Regions from separate parts of the Homo sapiens genome. Here all the other regions are linked to region 2. The links are contacts of gene promoters, found by promoter capture Hi-C in human tissues and cell types (Jung and others, 2019). All regions are on one chromosome and are shown on one strand. Each heading gives the region's core, a stretch centred on a gene start or on the middle of the fragment in contact. The rest is flanking DNA. Distances are from core to core; before and after follow the strand shown. Region 1 holds the start of ACER1 (alkaline ceramidase 1). Region 2 holds the start of DENND1C (DENN domain containing 1C). Region 3 has its middle 23 kb from the start of TNFSF14. Region 4 holds the start of TNFSF14 (TNF superfamily member 14). Region 5 has its middle 33 kb from the start of CD70.

Region 1 (3,344 bases), core at 285-2,784, 150 kb after region 2:
TTAAATTATATTAATCACATTAAAATAATATACTAAAATATTTAAAATATTATATAACAATAGTATTTTTAATATAATAATTTTATATTTTAATATAATATTGCTATTATATAATAAATAATTATATTATTATTGTTATGCACACTTGCTAACCGCTTGCTAAGGCCAGGCTCTTTTATTATAATAATAATAATTATTATTATTCCCACAAAGTTGACTTAAAGTTCAAGGTCAGCTTCAGTAAGAAAACCCTGTAATCCCAGCACTTTGGGACAGAGCAAGACTCCATCTCAAAAAAAAAAAGAAAACCCATTACCATCCATCAAGTGCCTACTCTAGCATAGGCAGTGGGCTAAGCCTTTGTACATGCTTTATCTCTGTCTTCCTTTGTTACAGTTGGCTCTGTCACCATCGTCTCCATATGACAGGTGAGCAAACAGAGGATCAGAGAGGTAAATTCACTTGCCCAAGGTCACACAGCTTAAAGTAGAGGAACTCAGGCCAGGTGAGGTGGCTCATGCGTATAATCCCGGCACCTTGGGAGGCCAAGGTGGGCAGATCACCTGAGGTCAGGAGTTCGAGACCAGCTTGACCAACATGGTGAAATCCTATCTCTACTAAAATACAAAAAAAATTAGCTGGGCATGGTGGCAGGTGCCAGTCATCCCAGCTACTTGGGAGGCTGAGGTAGGAGAATCGCTTGAACCCAGGAGGTGGAGGTTGCAGTGAGCTGACATTGCGCCACTACACTCCAGCCTGGGTGACAGAGCCAGACTGCATCTCAATTTTAAAAAAAAAGGCCGGGCACGGTGGCTCACGCACACCTATAATCCCAGCACTTTGGGAGGCCAAGGCAGGTGGATCACGAGGTCAGGAGATCGAGACCATCCTGGCTAACACAGTGAAACTCCATCTCTATTAAAAATACAAAAAATTAGCCGGTCGTGGCGGTGGGCGCCTGTAGTCCCAGCTACTCGGGAGGCTGAGGCGGGAGAATGGCGTGAACACGGGAGGCAGAGCTTGCAGTGAGCTGAGATCATGCCACTGCACTCCAGCCTGGGCAACAGAGCGACTCTGTCTCCAAAAAAAAAAACAATTAGCTAGGCATGGTGGCAGCATGTGCCTGTGGTCCTGGCTACTTCAGAGGCTGAGGCAGGAGTATTGCTTGAGCCTGGGAGTTTGAGGCTGCGGTGAGCTATGATGATGCCACTGTACCCCAGCCTGAGCAACAGAGCAAGGCCCTGACTCTAATAAATAAATACATACATACATAAAAGATAAAAACAGTTCCCTCCACTGCCCCCACCCCGATTCCTATTCCTGGGTAATCTGGATGGGAGGCCTCTTCCCTGCCTACTTCTGCCCCCTGCCCTGCCTGGACAGTGCCAGTCCCACGGCTTATGCTCAGGGCTGCTGTCACTGCACAGCCAGGCTGCCCTGGTGCAACTGGGGAGCGGCCCAGCAGGTTTTTCCTCCCAGTCTGCCTGCCGCGGGGCACCGGGCTGTCCTCTCCCCGCCTCATCAGGGCCCAGCCTTCCCAAGCTCGCCTTCTCTCTGCCGGGCGCAGCCGGCTGGTGGTGGCCACTGAGACAAGATGCCTAGCATCTTCGCCTATCAGAGCTCCGAGGTGGACTGGTGTGAGAGCAACTTCCAGTACTCGGAGCTGGTGGCCGAGTTCTACAACACGGTGAGTGCGTGGGTGTGTGAAGGAGTCTCGCCAGATGCCGGTTCGAATCCCGGTTCCTCCCCATACAGCCTTACTGGGGAATCTTGCTGGAGTGGTTCACCTGTCTCAGCCCTAGTTTTCTCATCTGTTAGCCAAAGAGTGCCAGCTTTCATTCATTTACTTGTCTTTACTTGATGCCAAGCTCTGTGGTAGGTTTTGGAGACACATTGGTGGCCAGGAAAAGAACCGGTCTCTGCCTTCCCTAAGCTAACTCTGATGTGACTGCAGGCATTTGCAACCGGGAGCGATGGTGCCTTCTTGGAGGGCACAGAGGCAGCTGTGGTAGGGGGAGGCAGAGGGTGCCCCTGAGCTAGAGGGGGTGGGCCAATCAGGAAAGGCTTCCTGGAAGAGGTGATTGTGTCTGTCTTGTTTGCAGCTGTACCCACTGACCAACTTGTCCCAGTGTGCCTGGGACTATCCTGGTTTCAGTATTTAAAAAGTTTCACCTCTTGGCTGGGCGCGGTGGCTCACGTCTGTAATCCTAGCACTTTGGAAGGCCAAGGTGGGTGGATTGCCTGAGCTCAGGAGTTGGAGATCGCCCTGGGCAACGTGGTGAAAGCCCATCTCTACTAAAATAAAAAATTAGCTGGGTACGGTGTCAGGCATCTGTAGTCCAAGCTACTCAGGAGGCTACGGCATGAGAATCGCTTGAACCCAGGAGGCGGAGGTTGCAGTGAGCTGAGATTGTGCCACTGCACTCCAGCCTGGGTGAAAAAGCGAGACTGTCTCAAAAAAAGAAGAAAAAAAGTCCCACCTCCTGAGAAACTCCTCAGTTCTGGACATTCTGAGGTGGTCTTCTCTTTCCCTGTTAAAACACCACATGGGAAGTGCTAAAAAATCATGGATGTACCTAGCACCATGGCTCATGCCTGTAACCCCAGCAATTTGGAACGCAGAGGCAGGAAGATCGCTTGAGCCCAGGAGTTCCAGACCAGCCTGGGCAACATAGCAAGACCCTGTCTCTACAAAAAGTTTTTAAAAATTAGCTGGGTGTGGTGGTGTGTGCTTGTAGTTCCAGCTACTTGGGAGGCTGAGGGGGGAGGATTTCTTGAACCCAAGAAGTGGAGGATGCAGTGAGCTGAGGTCATACCACTGCACTCCAGCCTGGGTGACAGAGGGAGACCCTGTCTCAAAAAAAAAAAAAAAAAAAAAAGGCCGGGCGCGGAGGCTCACGCCTGTAATCACAGCACTTTGCGAGGCCAAGGTGAGTGGATCACCTGAGGTCAGGAGTTCGAGACCAGCCTGGCCAACATGGTGAAACCCCATCTCTACTAAAAATACAAAAATTAGCCAGGTTTGGTGGCAGGCACCTGTAATCCCAGCTGCTTGGGAGGCTGAGGCAAGAGAATGGCTTGAACCCAGGAGGCGGAGGTTTCAATGAGCCGAGATCGCACCATTGCACTCCAGCCTGAGGGACAAGAGCGAGACTTCGTCTCAAAAAAAAAAAAAAAAATAGGAATGCACAAATGATCACGGCATTTAGCCAAAGCTTAAAGCCAAAGATCAGTGCAGCTATGCCATGCCCATACTGGGTGCTGGGAACACAGAGGTGTTTGCCTGGAGCCCTGGGAATGATGGGATCCAGGCATAGTGCTTAGTTCTTTTGTTTGTTTGTTTG
Region 2 (3,445 bases), core at 666-3,165:
ACGATCACAGCTCACTACAACCCCCACCACCTGGGCTCAAGGGATCCTCCCGCCTCAGCCTACAGAATAGCTGGGACTACTGCACCTGGCTAAAGTTTTAATTTTTGTAAAGATGGGGTCTTGTTATATTGCTCAGGCTGATCTTTAACTCCTGGCCTCAAACAATCCTACCTCAGCCTCCCAAGGTGCTGGGATTACTGAGCCACTGCCTCCAGCCCCTGTGTCTTTCATAGTCTGCAGCACGGCTTGAGTGTGTCGGGCTGTCATGAGTATCTGGCTGTCATGTGAGTCCAGCTGTGTCTCTCTCTGCATGTGGCCGGGTCTTGGCTATAACTATATCTGGTTATTACTTGAGCTATGTCTGTGCTGTGTTTCCATCTATCTGGGTCTATTTCTCTGTTATTCTGTTTGTATCAATGGCTGTGGTCTCTGTGTAACTGTTTATTGTGTCTCTGTCTGTCTCTGCATTTGTTTGTTTGTTTGTTTGCTTTGTTTTTGTTTTTGTTTTTGAGATGGAGTCTCACTCTTTCACCCAGGCTGGAGTGCAGTGGCACGATCTCGGCTCACTGCAACCTCTGCCTCCCGGATTCAAGTGATTCTCCTGCTTCAGCCTCCCAAGCAGCTGGGATTACAGGCACATGCCACCATGCCCAGCTAATTTTTTGTTTGTTTGTTTGTTTTTGATTTTTTGAGACAGAGTCCTGCTCTGTCGCCCAGGCTAGAGTACAGCGGCGCGATATCGGCTCACTGCAAACTCCGCCTCCCAGGTTCAAATAATTCTGCCTCAGCCTCCTGAGTAACTGGGATTACAGATGCCCACCACCGTGCCTGGCTAATCTTTGTATTTTTAGTAGAGACTGGGTTTCACCATCTTGGCCAGGCTGGTCTCGAACTCCTGACCTCGTGATCCACCTGCCTCAGCCTCCCAAAGTGCTGGGATTACAGATGTGAGCCACCGCACCTGGCCTGTATTTTTTTTTAATTAGAGACAGGGTTTCACCATGTTGGCCAGGCTGGTTGCAAACTCCTGACCTCAAGTGATCCGCTTACCTTGTCTTTCTGCGCACAATGGGTGTGTAACTGTGACTAAGTTGTTTTTTTTTTTTTTTGAGACAGGATCTCACTTTGTTGCTCAGGCTGGAGTACAGTAGTGCAATCTTGGTTCACTATGGCCTCAAACTCCCCAGGCTCAGGCGATCCTCCTGACTCAGCCTCCTGGGTAAGCTGGGACTATAGGTGCGTGCCACCACCGCCAGCTATAATTTTTGTAGCTTTTATAGACACAGGGTTTCGCCATGTTTCCCAGGCTGGTCTCGAACTCCTGGGCTCAAGCGGTCCTCCCACCTTGGCCTCTCAAAGTGCTGGGATTATAGGCGTGAGCCACTGTGCCCGGCCTGGGACTATGATCCAGCTGTAGGACTCCCTATCTCTCCATGTCTGTCGTCTCTGGCTCTTCTGCACTCGGTTTGTCTGTGCTGATGACTTCCTGAGCGTGTAACTGTCTGTGTCTGTGTCTGTCTGTCCGTCCCTGTGCCTGTACTTCGTGCTCTTTGTCCCCATCCCTGGCCCCCCCACCGTCCACTTTACAGGTGGCTCCCTCTGGTGGTCCACCAGTGACCGTCCAGGCCAAATGGACCAAGGGAAAGAGACGGGGAGGCATTTCATTAATAGACAGACTGTGAATCTTGGCTGCTGCGGAGCGGGGAAGGAGAGATGAGGGCCCAGGCACGATGGGGGGAACCAGACACAGTCCAGCCTGGCGGGGACGGAGCTGGGGGTCTGCCTTCCCAGGCTGACCACTTATTGCCCACCCATCCCCAACATAATTAGCAGGCAGGATGCCTGGGTTTCTCACGGGGGTGGGGGCAGGGCCTCTGTCCGGGGACGTCACCCGTTAAACTTCCTCTCTCAGCCACACAGGAAGCTGAGCCGGCTTGGGGCCCAGCATACACAGGCCCCCAGGACCCCTGGGGAGAGGGCCCCGCTGGGCTGGCCCTGCAGGGACCATGGAATCCAGAGCTGAGTAAGAGCCACCCCATCCCTCATTCTCTGGTACAAGATTCCCGGGCCAGGCCTGAGCCGGGGCAGAGGGGAGCTGGGGCTGGAGCAGGCCCGGGAGGTGCAGTGACCTGCCAGGGCAGGTGGCTGGAATCAGATACTCCATGGGCCTCCGCTATGACCTTCACTCTGGGACAGGCCACTCTCGGTCCCCTCCTCTCTCTCTCTCTCTCTCTCTCTATCCAGCTCCTGTGATTATGTCTATAGCTCTGTGAATGCATGTACCCCTCTGAGCTTTGTCCTTGGTATGTCTGAGTGATGGCTTCAGGGGGTCCACAGGGCGGATGATCAGGGCAGAGGGGAGGCTGGGTGTTGGTATGAGTGGGTGATCGTGTGTGACTTGTGTCGGCGTGAGGGTGAAGTGCTGGGGTACCCATGGTGGGGACTGTGTGTGCAACTGGGCGGGACAGTGTGTGTGCAGCTGATCTCCCTCTAGATCTCCCTGTCTCTCTCCTTGAGCCCAAGGCTGCCTCTTCTGCTTGATATGGGGGCAGAGGAGGAAAGCAGAGATTGCAGGGCTTACAGTAAGTACCTAGGTATCCTGCCCTCCTTTCTCTGATGAGACATGTGGGACCAGCCACGAGGGTTCTATGGGGTCTCACACACAGAGACACACAGCCAGCCCACAAGGATCCCACGCGGTTACCCAGTGACACTCACAGCTGTACAGGAAAATATAGATGTCATTCACTTGCTCGGGCACACACACTCACATCTATACAAGAAAATATAGATGGCATGGCTAGATGCAGTGACTCAAGCCTGTAATCCCAGCAATTTGGGAGGCTGAGGCGGGCAGATCACCTGAGGTCAGGAGTTTGAGAACAGCCTGGCCAGTATGTGAAACCCTGTCTCTACTAAAAATATGAAAATTAGCTGGGCGTGGTGGCGGGCACCTGTAATCCCAGCTACAGGGAGGCTGAGGCAGGAGAATCGCTTGAACCTGTGGGGTGGAGGTTGCAGTGAGCCAAGATCGTGCCACTGTACTCCAGCCTGGGTGACAAAGCAAAACTCCATCTCAAAAAAATAGATAGATAGATAGATAGATAGATAGATAGATAGATAGATAGATAGATAGATAGGTGGGTGGGTGGATGGATAGGTGGGTGGGTGGGTGGATGGATGGATGGATGGATAGACAGAGACAGACAGACAGACAGATAGATGGATATATATATAGAGAGAGAGAGATGTAATTCACTTAGCTTGGGACTGCACGGGCTGTCCTTCATATCTGTGCAGTCTCATGCCACAGATATAGGAGACAGTCTCATCTTTTCAGGCAGACAGCAGACAGGATCACACACACACTGCCTGCTCACAAAAGCCATGCACTCAGCCACACACAATCATACACAGCCACACACACACAGTCACACTTTCTCAC
Region 3 (3,752 bases), core at 402-2,901, 170 kb before region 2:
CTCCCTCTGTCTCCCAGAATTGAACCCGACTCTGATCAAGTCTTATGTTCAGATTACCAGCTTACAGCAGGGGTCAGCAAACTGGCCCGTGGACACAATCCTGCCCCACCTCCAATTTTTGTACAGCTCACAAGTTAAGAATAGTTTCACATTTTTAAGTCAAAAGAAGAATAATATTTTATAACACAAAAAGTATATGCAATTAAAATTCCAGCATCCATAAAGATTTTTATTGGTCTACAGTGACTCCCGTCTATTTGTATACTGTCTATGACAGCTTTTGCACTTAAATGGAAGGATTAAGTTGCCGTGACAGGGACTGCATAACTCACAGAGCCAAAAGTATTTAGTATTGGGCCCTTTATAGAAAATATTTGCCAAGCTCTGGTTTACAGGGTTAGGGGATAGAAGAATACGTGCAATGACACTGCAAGGGTGAAATCACACTGGAAAAATCTACAGGACAAGCAACCTAGTGTATCCAATAGCTTAAGAAAAAACAGCAGTAGGCGTAGAGAGTGTAAAGGGAAAATATTTATTGATTTTTTTTTAGTAGGAAATGCATCCAACAAATCCAGTGTGCAAACTTTCCTCTCCTTCCAAAAGGAGAGGACAATAGTCTAAGAAATACCCATAAATCCATCACTTAAATTCAATAGTTTCAATGTCCTGCCTTGCTGACTTTATCAACTACCCTCTTTCTAAATTTGATATTGTTTCAGATATCATCCCATTTCACATGCCCCCTTGAATATTTTGAAGGTATCTCCAAGGGGTAGAAGGTGTATCTCCTTCACGTATGTATAAAACCATGTTGCCTCAAGTGATTCTCCTGCCTCAGCCTTCCAAGTAGCTGGGATTACAGGCATGCGCCACCACACCCAGCTTATTTTTGTATTTTCTGTAGAGACGGGGTTTCGCTATGTTGCCCAGGCTGGTCTTGAACTCCTGGGCTCAAGTGACCCGCTCTCCTTCACCTCCCAAAGTGCTGGGATTGCAGATGTGAGCCACCATGCCAGCCTCCCAAAGTGCTGGGATTACATTTGGATCCAGATTCAAGCCAGTCATGTTAGTCAGGGTTCTCCAGAGAAACAGAACCAAGGAGGGGAAGGTAGAGGCCTTTCCAGCGGCAAACAAGACTCAGAATTTAGGTGCTCCATGTCCTCAACTTCATCCTTGTCTTCCCACATATCCCAATTCCAGTTTCCAGGATACTATTCTTACAGGATACCATTGATACTAATCAATGCCCTCAGTTTATCAGTAGACATCCTTGGAAGCTGGGAGTCCAACTTGCCCTGAAATCCGGCCAATCACAGAATAAGATTCTGTGTTTGCTTTTCACCACTCTCAGCCCTGAGGCTACAGGAGACAAGGATGTCCTTTAGGGCACACATAGAAGATGTCAGGTTACTTATGCAGTGCTTGAGCTGGGAATTCAAATCCCTAAGTTCATCCTCTTCTCTCAGCACTCTATCCAGTGACATTAGGAGGAGCCAGCCAATCTCATTATATTCATTCGATTTTCAAAACTTCTCAGAAGTATCAAATACACAGTGACAAGATCTTTGCTTCTTATAGATAGTTAATTAGGAGTATACAGTGGTGATATCTGCATCTCTCTATTGCCAGATCATGCCATGGACCACCAGTGCTCTCTTACTACTGTAAAGAGTCATTAGCCTCTTTCAGTTTAATCAGATTAGAGAGCCAATTTCAGAAGAACGAGAAGCAATTCAGAAAGCTCATTCTTCCTCTAGAACCACTTTTTTTTTTTTTTTTTGAGTTGGGGTCTCACTCTGTGACCCAGGCTGGATTGCAATGGCATAATCATCGCTCACTGCAGCCTCAAACTCTTTGGCTTAAGGGATTCTCCCATCTCAGCCTTCCAAACAGCTAGAACTACAGGTACACGCTTCCACACCTGGCTAATTTTTTTTTTTTTTTTTTTTTTTTTTTTTTTTGTGAGATGGAGTCTTGCTCTGTTGCCAGGTTGGAGTGCAGTGGCATTATCTCGGCTCACTGCAACCTCCACCTCCTAGGTTCAAGTGATTCTCCCTTCTCAGCCTCCCGAGTAGCTGGGACTACAGGCACGTGCCACCATGCCCAGCTAATTTTTGTATTTTTAGTAGAGATGGGGTTTCATGATGTTGGCCAGGATGGTCTCGATCTCTTGACCTCTTCATCCGCCCACCTCGGCCTCCCAAAGTGCTGTGATTACAGACATGAGCCACCGCACCCAGCCACACCTGGCTAATTAAAAAAATTTTTTTGGAGATGAGGTCTCACTGTGTTGCCTAGGCTGGTTTGAACTCCTGGCCTCAAGCGATCCTCCTGCCTCAGCCTCCCAGAATGCTGAGATTTCCAGCATGAGCCATCACACCCAGTTTAGAACAACTCTTGGTACCAAAATCTGTATTAGTCAGGATTCTCCAGAGAAATGGAACCATTAAGTTTCATATATATATATATATATATATCTCAAACATTGGAGGTCTTTCAGCAGGAGACTGATGTGGTTAGATCACATCAGTGATCTAATGGTGGGGGCCAGAAGAGTGGATTCATAGCACCCCTGTTAGGACAGGGGTGAGACATGAAGAGAGAGGATTCTGATCAGAGAAGGAACAGCAGGCTCCAGCATCAAAGTTGGGAGGGAGGTTTTGGGGTAAGGAGACAAAAAGATAAGCTCAGCCTTCCTCCATAAAGCTTTTTCTGAATCTCACCCACATCCCATCTCCTCCATTCCTGGGCTCCATCCCTGGGGCTCCATTCTTCCAGCCCTGACCACATAGAACTAAAAGCATCTTGTCCAGCTGTGACTCCTCCACCCATCCCAGAGGATCCTCAAAAAAAGGAGCCTGGACATGAGTTATTCTGGGGTCCCCTACACCCAGTAAGGGGTCCAGGAAAAATGTTCTGCAGGATTTCTGCAACGGGAGAGAGCTCAGTGGTCTGAGGCCATGGAAGGCTGGATGAGGATCAGGAAGATCTCAGTGAACAGGGAGGAAATTCAGGGCCATCGCTAGTCTAAGGCTGCAGTGGAGGGTGACCATGGCAGGGGTCACAGAGGAAAATGAGGCAGGGCAAGGGGAAATTGTAAATGCCAGTGTAAAGAATTGTGGTGTCAGTTATAGGCAATAGAGAGTTTCCATCATTAACACCACAAGGAGCAGCATTTAACCAATGATGGATGGGATTTAGTGGATAAATACCCGGCTTCCCTGTCCCCAGGGTGGGACAACTCCAAGGCATAGTCTACACAGTCACCCCAAAGTCCCCAATGGGATAGCCCATAGCAGACACCTGTGCACTAATACACCCTGTATTAGTTCCTACCCATACCTCTTCTCACATTTCCTGGGGATGCCTTTGTGGTGTACAGACCCTGGGGTGATTTCCCAAAAATTCCTACCTCCTGGCATCCAAGCCTTTGTATAATCCCCTCTCCTTGAGTTCCAGCAGAACCTGACTTGCTTCTAACCAATAGAAGATGACAAAGATGGCCAGGTGTGTGGTGGCTTGCACCGGTAATCCTAGCACTTTGGGAGGCCAACGCGGGAGGACTGCTTGAGCCCAGGAATTGGAAACCAGCCTGAGCAACATAGTGAGATCGCATCTCTACAAAAATTTTTTTTTAAGTTAGCTAGGCATGGTGGCGCATGCCTGTAATCCCAGCTACTCAGGAAGCTGAGGCAGAAGGATCACTTGAGTTCAGGAGTTCAAGACCAGCCTGGGCAACATGGCAAGAC
Region 4 (3,779 bases), core at 306-2,805, 190 kb before region 2:
AGCCAAAATGGCACCACTGCACTCCAGCCTGGGTGACAAAGTGAGACTCTGCCTCAAAAAAAAAAAGAAAGAAAAAGGCTGGGTGCGGTGGCTTATGCCTGTAATCCCAGCACTTTGGGAGGCCAAGGCAGGCGGATCACGAGGTCAGGAGATTGAGACCATCCTGGCTAACACGGTGAAACCCCGTCTCTACTAAAAATACAAAAAATTAGCTGGGTGCGGTGGTGGGCGCCTGTAGTCCCAGCTACTCAGGAGGCTGAGGCAGGAGAATGGCGTGAACCTGGGAGGCGGAGCTTGCAGTGAGCCGAGATCGCACCACTGCACTCCAGCCTGGGCGACAGAGCGAGACTCCGTCTCGAAAAAAAAAAAAATCCACGCTTGAATGCATGCACACTCATACATGGACCTCCCCACACACATGAACACACCCGTGCAAGTGCGCACACACACATACACGCACCAATGCACAGGCACACACACATGCACACACCTGCACACAGCACATATATGCACACCCACTTGCACATGTGATGCATGTTCACACATACACACACGTGCACATGCATGCATGTACATGGACCACATGCACATGCACACAGATGACCATACACATATGCATGCACCTGCCCACATATGCACGCACATTTACATGCCAGCACATGTATGATACACAGGCATGCGCCTGCACATGTGTACATGATACACACTTGCATGCACACAACTGAATACACACATTCACATGCACACACTGCACACATATATGCATGCAGACAAGCACACACACAGAGCACACATCCACTCCTTTATTCCACTCTTGTGTTTTTCACTGCACTTGTCACATCAAAACACAACAGAAGGCCGGGCATGGTGCGGCTCACGTTTGTAATCCCAGCACTTTGGGAGGCTGAGGTGGGTGGATCGCTTGAGGTCAGGAGTTCGAGACCAGCCTGACCGACATGGTGAAAACCCATCTCTACTAAAAATACAAAAAGCAGCCAGGCGTGGTGGCACGCGCCTGTAATCCCCGCTACTTGGGAGGCTGAGGCAGGAGAATTGCTTGAACCCAGGAGGTGGAGGTTGTAGTAAGCTGAGATCGCGCCACTGCACTCCAGCCTGGGCAACAGAGCGAGACTCCATCTCAAAAACAAAACAAATAAACGAACAAAAAAACCCACAACGTATTATTTTCTTGTTTACGAGGTTTCTTGTCTCTCTGGCTCCACCAGAAGAGGAGCAGGGACCCTTCTTGCTGTTGTTCATTGCTGCATCCCCCACACCGAGAGCAGAGCCTGGCATGGGCAGAAAGTCCTCAGTCGATATTTGGTGGCCCCAAGCGAATGAAGCATCCAAGAAGGGAAAGCTGGGGGCTCCCCACTGCACTTGCCACCTGAGTCACATTTTCAGAAGCCTCTGGAAAGTGTGAGAGTCTGTATGAGTGAGAGTGAGACAGGGCCAAGACCGGGGGCGGCGGGTACCGGAAGAAGAGGAGGGTGAGTGGGGGAAGGGGTGGGGCTGAACCCCAGCTCTAAAGGCGGCCCACGGGTGCCTGTCCGCAGCGTGCACAGCCCAGGAGTGTTGAGCAATTTCGGTTTCCTCTGAGGTTGAAGGACCCAGGCGTGTCAGCCCTGCTCCAGACACCTTGGGCATGGAGGAGAGTGTCGTACGGCCCTCAGTGTTTGTGGTGGATGGACAGACCGACATCCCATTCACGAGGCTGGGACGAAGCCACCGGAGACAGTCGTGCAGTGTGGCCCGGGTGGGTCTGGGTCTCTTGCTGTTGCTGATGGGGGCCGGGCTGGCCGTCCAAGGCTGGTTCCTCCTGCAGCTGCACTGGCGTCTAGGAGAGATGGTCACCCGCCTGCCTGTGAGTGGGACCGGGGGGCTGAGAGCAGGTGGAGGTGAGGGGGGCTCCCCTGTGTCATTGTGGGTCACTGTGTGTCTGTGTGTGTGTGTGTGTGTGTGTGTGTGTGTGTGTGTAGGACAGGGCACAGGCTGAGAGCAGCTGGCTTGACTGGTTGCTGCTCCCAGCCTTGGGCAAGTGAATTCACCTCTCTGAACCTCAGTGTCTTCATCTACAAAATAAGGGCAGTCTCTTCATAGGGGACGAAGTATGCTATGGCATGTGTAGTACCAGACGATGCCAGCTCCACCCGTCGGAACTGACACCCCAACACTGCCATGCACACCCCTGTGCACACACGCATGCATTTTCTCTGTACTTTTTTATTTTTGAGACGGAGTTTCACTCTCGTTGCCCAGGCTGGAGTGCAATGGCATGATCTCTGCTCACCGCAACCTCTGCCTCCCGGGTTCAAGTGATTCTCCTGCCTCAGCCTCCCGAGTAGCTGGGATTACAGGCATGCGCCACCACGCCTGGCCAATTTTGTATTTTTAGTAGAGATGGGGCTTCTCTATGTTTGTCAGGCTGGTCTCAAACTCCCGACCTCAGGAGATCCACCCGCCTCAGCCTCCCAAAGTGCTGGGATTACAGGTGTGAGCCACTGCGCCTGGCCTTCTCTGGTACTCTTATTACTGTTACTGCGATTGTCATTAATTCTCTGACCATTTCCATCTGTGGAAATTTCTCGGTCTGCTTCCAGCTGGCTGTGGATGTGTCCGCCTGTCTGTGTGCCTCACCTGGGGGTCTATGTGTGCCCAACACCATACCCCTGTGGGCTTGGCCCCTTTTGTGTCCTGGGTCTGGATCCGGTGGCCACACATTCGTGTCCATATACCCATGTGGACGTATGTGCGTGTACCCACATGTCCACACACCCGCCTAGCTGCAGCCGGTGTATTCACGTTGTCTGTCTTTGTCTCTGGGTCTCTGTGTCTGTAGACGCACATGGATCCATAAACCACAAACCACATGTCCACGCATCTGAGCCCACATGTGTCTTCTCAGCGTCATGATGATGTTGAGGTCTGTGCCCTGTGGCAGGTGCTATATCCCAAGGGTGGTGTCCATGTGTCCAGCCATCTCGCTGTCTGCATTTTTTTTTTTTTGAGACAAGGTTTCTCTCCCATAGCCCAGGCTGTAGTGTAGTGGTGCAGTCTTGGCTCACTACAACCCCACCTCCCAGGTTCAAGTGATTCCCTTGTCTCAGCCTCCTGAGCAGTAGCTGGGATCACAGGCATCCGCCACCGTGCCTGGCTAATTTGTGTATTTTTAGTACAGACGGGGTTTCACCATGTTGGCCAGACTTGTCTCGAACTCCTGACCTCAAGTGATCCACCTGCCTCAGCCTCCCAAAGTGCTGGGATTACAGGTGTGAGCCACCACGCCTGGCCTTGTCCCTGTATTTTTAAATATTACTTATTTATTTAATTAATTACATATTTATTTATCTTAGAGACTGTGTCTCACTCTGCTTCCCAGGCTAGAGTGGAGTGGCACGATCATAGCTCACTGCAGCCTTGAACTCCTGGGCTCAAGCAAGCCTCCTGTCCCAGCTTCATGAGTAGCTGGGACTACAGGCATGCACCACCATGCCTGGCTAATCTTAAAAATTTTTTGTAGAGATGAGGTCTTGTTGTGTTGCCCAGGCTGGTCTTAAACTCCTGGCCTCAAGCTGTCCTCCCACTTTGGCCTCCCAAAGTGCTGGGATTACAGGTGTAAGCCACTGCTCTGGGCAATGTTATTTATTTATTAAACCCTTTTATTTATTTATTTATTTTTTGAGATAGAATCTCACTCTGTCACCTAGGCTAGAGTGCAGTGGCACAATCTGGGCCCACTGCAACCTCCCAGGTTCAAGCGATCCTCCTGCCTCAGCCTC
Region 5 (3,872 bases), core at 820-3,319, 140 kb before region 2:
TGGAATTACAGGCACATGCCACCATACCCAGCTAATTTTTGTATTTTTAGTACAGATGGGGTTGCACCATGTTGTCCAGGCTGGTCTCGAACTCCTGACTTCAAGTGATCTGCCTGCCTCAGCCTCCCAAAGTGCTGGGAATACAGGCATGAGCCACCATGCGTGGCCTGCATTTACTATTTTTTTTTTTAATGATGGGGAAAAAGGTAGTTGTCTTACTTTGATAAGTTTGACTTAGCACCTACCACATTTTTTATGCTTTTGGTCACAGTTCTGTCACTAGAATGCTAGCAATTGGACATATGCAATGAGTAACCTGATTACTTTAATACAGTGGTTTGAAGTGCTGCAAGCAGTAACTCCTAGACACCAAATCACAGCGTTTCAATGTGTGGCATGTTAGAATGACAGGCCTTTTGGTAGTATAAATACCCTATTAACTAATCCTTGTGCTGTTAAGTTTCACAACTTTGACTCCTGGGTCTGAAAAAGGCACTGACCCCTGCTAAGTCTTGAACATCAAAACCAGTGGAAGTCTTGTCTTCAGATCCAGGGAAAAATGACAATCAAAATGAACTGTTTTCATGAGACACAGGGCTAGAAATTAAAACTATTCAGCCAGGTGCGGTGGCTCACACCCGTAATCCCAGCACTTTGGGAGGCTGAGGTGGGTGGATCACGAGGGCAAGAGATCGAGACCATCCTGGCCAACATGGTTAAATCTCGTCTCTACTAAAAATACAAAAATTAGCCAGGAGTGGTGGCGGGTGCCTGTAGTCCCAGCTATTCAGGAGGCTGAGGTAGGAGAATCGCTTGAACTGGGGAGGCAGAGGTTGCAATGAGCCAATATTGTGCCACTGCATTCTAGCCTGGCAACAGAGCGAGACTCTGTCTCAAAAAAAAAAAAAGAAAAAAAACCAAAACTATTCAATCCCTCTAGGCCCAGGAACTATCACGGATGAGGTGGGTGTGTGAGATTATAAGGGCCAATTTTGAGGGATAAAATTAGTTCAGAGTTTTTCTTATAAATTAAACGTTAATATCAAAAGCACACTGATGCAAGGTGAGGGTCTGAGCCCATGTGTCAGGAGTAAGGGTTTTTGTGGAGCATTGATCTGTTCTTTTTAATAGAAAATCATGAAAGCTTATAAAAAGTTTATCAAAATCTTACCCTATGGTCAAACCAATGAAAATTAGATAGATTTATTGATAAAGTTTTATTAAAATTATCTTTAACATTAATAAATACACCATATAAAGGTAAAATTTGGGTTTTCTCTTTTGAACAAAATTTGTATAATATTAATAAGAGAGAAAATAGTTTTGTTTAAGTAAACTGGAGGGAAAAAATGGATTGGAGAGGGACAGATTTGTTTGGTCTCATGCTGTCTTATTGTTTGAGAAACTGTATCTCCTATTAAAAGGTAAATATTTTTGTTTTATCATTTTGGCTAAATAAATGACTTGTGTTTTCCTTTTTTTCTTTTTTTTTTTTTTTGGGACAGAATTTCATTCTTGTCGCCCAGGCTGGAGTGCAGTGGCCCAATCTCAGCTCACTGCAACCTCTGCCTCCAGGTTCAAGCAGTTCTCCTGCCTCAGCCTCTCAAGTAGCTGGGATTAACAGGCACGTGCCACCACACCTGGCTAATTTTTGTATTTTTAGTAGAGACGCGGTTTTACAATGTTGGCCAGGCTGGTCTTGAACACCTGACCTCAGATGATCTGCCTGCCTTGGCCTCCCAAAGTGCTGGGATTACAGGTGTGAGCCACTGCACCCGGCCATAAATGACTATTTTATTGTGACCTGTGATCATGTTTTGTGATATCAAGTGTTTTAAAATTTTTGTAATTGGCAAAATTTCTAGGAGCACAATTTAAAGGTCTAAATTCAGTCTTTTTGACCTCAAACTAACTTTTTTGGATATTAGGTTCCCTCAAGTCCAAGAGAGATATCTTAGGTTAATTTGTTATTTTAGAATCATGCAGGAAACATTGTCAGATCCAAGGTGGTGTTTAGCTTCCTTCGGGTTATATTTTATTTTTGAGATGGAGTCTCACTCTGTCGCCCAGACTGGAGTACAGTGGCTCAATCTTGGCTCACTGCAACCTCTGCCTCCCAGGTTCAAGCAATTCTTCTGCCTCACCCTCCCAAGTAGCTGAGATTACAGGCACGTGCCACCATGCCCGGCTAATTTTTGTATTTTTAGTAGAGACAGGGTTTCACCATACTGGCCAGGCTGGTCTCAAACTCCTGACCTCGTGATCCGCCTGCCTCGGCCTCCCAGAGTGCTGGGATTACAGGCGTGAGCCACCACGCCTGGCCCTTAGGGTTATATTTATATAGATGAGTTGTTAATATATGTTCTAGGATTGTATGAGATTCCTAAAATTCTGATATGTCAATGTGTTTCTTGGCATAATTTGAGTAAGAACCTATTTTCTTTTATAATGGAACAGTGTGAGGTTCCAGCAAGGCCAATTTAGAAGGATCTATGTGGACAATGATTTTTGCTGCACTTTTTGGGGGTAATCAGGCCAAGTATATGGGACCAAAGCTTTTTTATTTTTTATTTTTTAGACAGAGTCTCACTCTGTCACCCAGACTGGCTCACTGCAACCTCCATCTCCTGGGTCTCCAACTCCTGGCCTCAAGTGATCCACCTGCCTTGGCCTCCCAAACTGCTGGGATTACAGGCAGAAGCCACCATGCCCAGCCATGGACTGAAGCTTATTTTGCAGGTAGGTTCATCCTGCTTTGACTTGTCTTTGGTGGGGGCAGTGGTGGCTGGACAGAGAATGATTGTGTTTCAGAAGGTGGCCACATGGTCACCTCCTCAGCATGAAGCAGCCAGAAAGATCAATGGTCAGATTCCCCATGATTAAAAAAATTGATAAATAGAGGGGACTGAAACTGACCCAATAGTCCCATAGACTGTTTTGTTTTTGATAAATAGAAATGGACACTTCCAGTCTTAAACCTTGAAACTTATGTTTGTTTTATCTGAATTTCTTCTTCTTCAAGAAGGAACCTCCCCACCCCAACCCAGGCATCTCAAAAAATATCAAAGAACTGAAACTCACCAGATCATCACATCCAGACCCCTCATTCATCACGATTACTTCCTTATGCCTCCCAAGTTCCCATTTTCCCACACATCATTACATTTCTTCCCAGCTACATAAACCCCTAATTTTAGTCAGTCAAGGGGATGGATTCAAGACTGATCTCCCACCTCCTCAGCTGCAGCACCCAATTAAAGCCTTCTTCCCTGGCAATACTCATCACCTCAGCCATTGGCTTTCTGTGTGGCAAGCAGCAGACCTAGACCATATCCCTGGTGTTTCAGTAACAAGATGAGGGTCTAATTTCATTCTTCTGCATGTGGATATCTATTTTTCCCAGCATCATTTATCAAAGAGCTCTCCTTTTCCCATTGTGTGTTCTCAGCACTTTTGTCTGAAATTCATTGACTGTACATGTGTGAGTTTACTTCTGGACTTTTTATTCTGTTCCATTGGTCTGTGTGTCTGCTGTCATTCCAGTAACATACTGTCTTGATTACTATAGATTTGTAATATAGTTTGAAATCCAGAACTGATGCCTTCAGCTTTGTTTTTCTTGCTGAATTGTGTTTATTATTCAAAGTCTTTTGTGGTTAAATTTTAGAATTTTGTTTCTATTTCTATGAAAAATACCCCTGAAATTTTGATAGGGATTTGCATAGAATCTGTGGATCACTTTGTGTAGCATGGACATTTTAACAATATTAATTCCTTCAATCCATGAACATGGGATATCTTTTCATTCATTTGTGTCTTCTACAATTTCTTTGATCAATTTTTTTTTTGTAAACGGATCTTTTACTTCCTTG

The links. Contacts are between HindIII fragments. The study calls those that stand out against the background at their distance.
Region 1: the fragment with the promoter of ACER1 here is called in contact with the fragment with the promoter of DENND1C in region 2 in 1 of the 25 tissues and cell types used here (lymphoblastoid cells).
Region 3: a fragment that was not itself captured here is called in contact with the fragment with the promoter of DENND1C in region 2 in 1 of the 25 tissues and cell types used here (spleen).
Region 4: the fragment with the promoter of TNFSF14 here is called in contact with the fragment with the promoter of DENND1C in region 2 in 4 of the 25 tissues and cell types used here (adrenal gland, lymphoblastoid cells, mesenchymal stem cells and 1 more).
Region 5: a contact is called between a fragment that was not itself captured here and the fragment with the promoter of DENND1C in region 2, in 8 of the 25 tissues and cell types used here (dorsolateral prefrontal cortex, heart left ventricle, heart right ventricle and 5 more).

What each region holds. Positions count from the first base shown.
Region 1 is chr19:6,331,802-6,335,145 of GRCh38, reverse strand. ACER1 (alkaline ceramidase 1) reads left to right here and starts at 1,534. Exons shown (of 6, transcript NM_133492.3): 1 at 1,534-1,687. The coding sequence starts at 1,595. The HindIII fragment of the contact is 13,348 bases long and covers 1-3,344 here.
Region 2 is chr19:6,480,257-6,483,701 of GRCh38, reverse strand. DENND1C (DENN domain containing 1C) reads left to right here and starts at 1,915. Exons shown (of 23, transcript NM_024898.4): 1 at 1,915-2,023. The coding sequence starts at 2,007. RefSeq lists enhancers at 1,430-1,724, 3,321-3,445. The HindIII fragment of the contact is 27,793 bases long and covers 1-3,445 here.
Region 3 is chr19:6,644,789-6,648,540 of GRCh38, reverse strand. No RefSeq gene overlaps it. Among named protein-coding and RNA genes, the nearest start is that of TNFSF14, 23 kb to the left of the region's middle. The HindIII fragment of the contact is 4,731 bases long and covers 1-3,752 here.
Region 4 is chr19:6,667,936-6,671,714 of GRCh38, reverse strand. It overlaps TNFSF14 (TNF superfamily member 14), which reads left to right and starts at 1,555. Exons shown (of 4, transcript NM_001376887.1): 1 at 1,555-1,864. The coding sequence starts at 1,646. RefSeq lists a silencer at 426-525 and enhancers at 1,096-1,325, 1,706-1,795, 2,696-2,885, 2,946-3,035. The HindIII fragment of the contact is 26,746 bases long and covers 1-3,779 here.
Region 5 is chr19:6,622,429-6,626,300 of GRCh38, reverse strand. No RefSeq gene overlaps it. Among named protein-coding and RNA genes, the nearest start is that of CD70, 33 kb to the right of the region's middle. The HindIII fragment of the contact is 5,411 bases long and covers 1-3,872 here.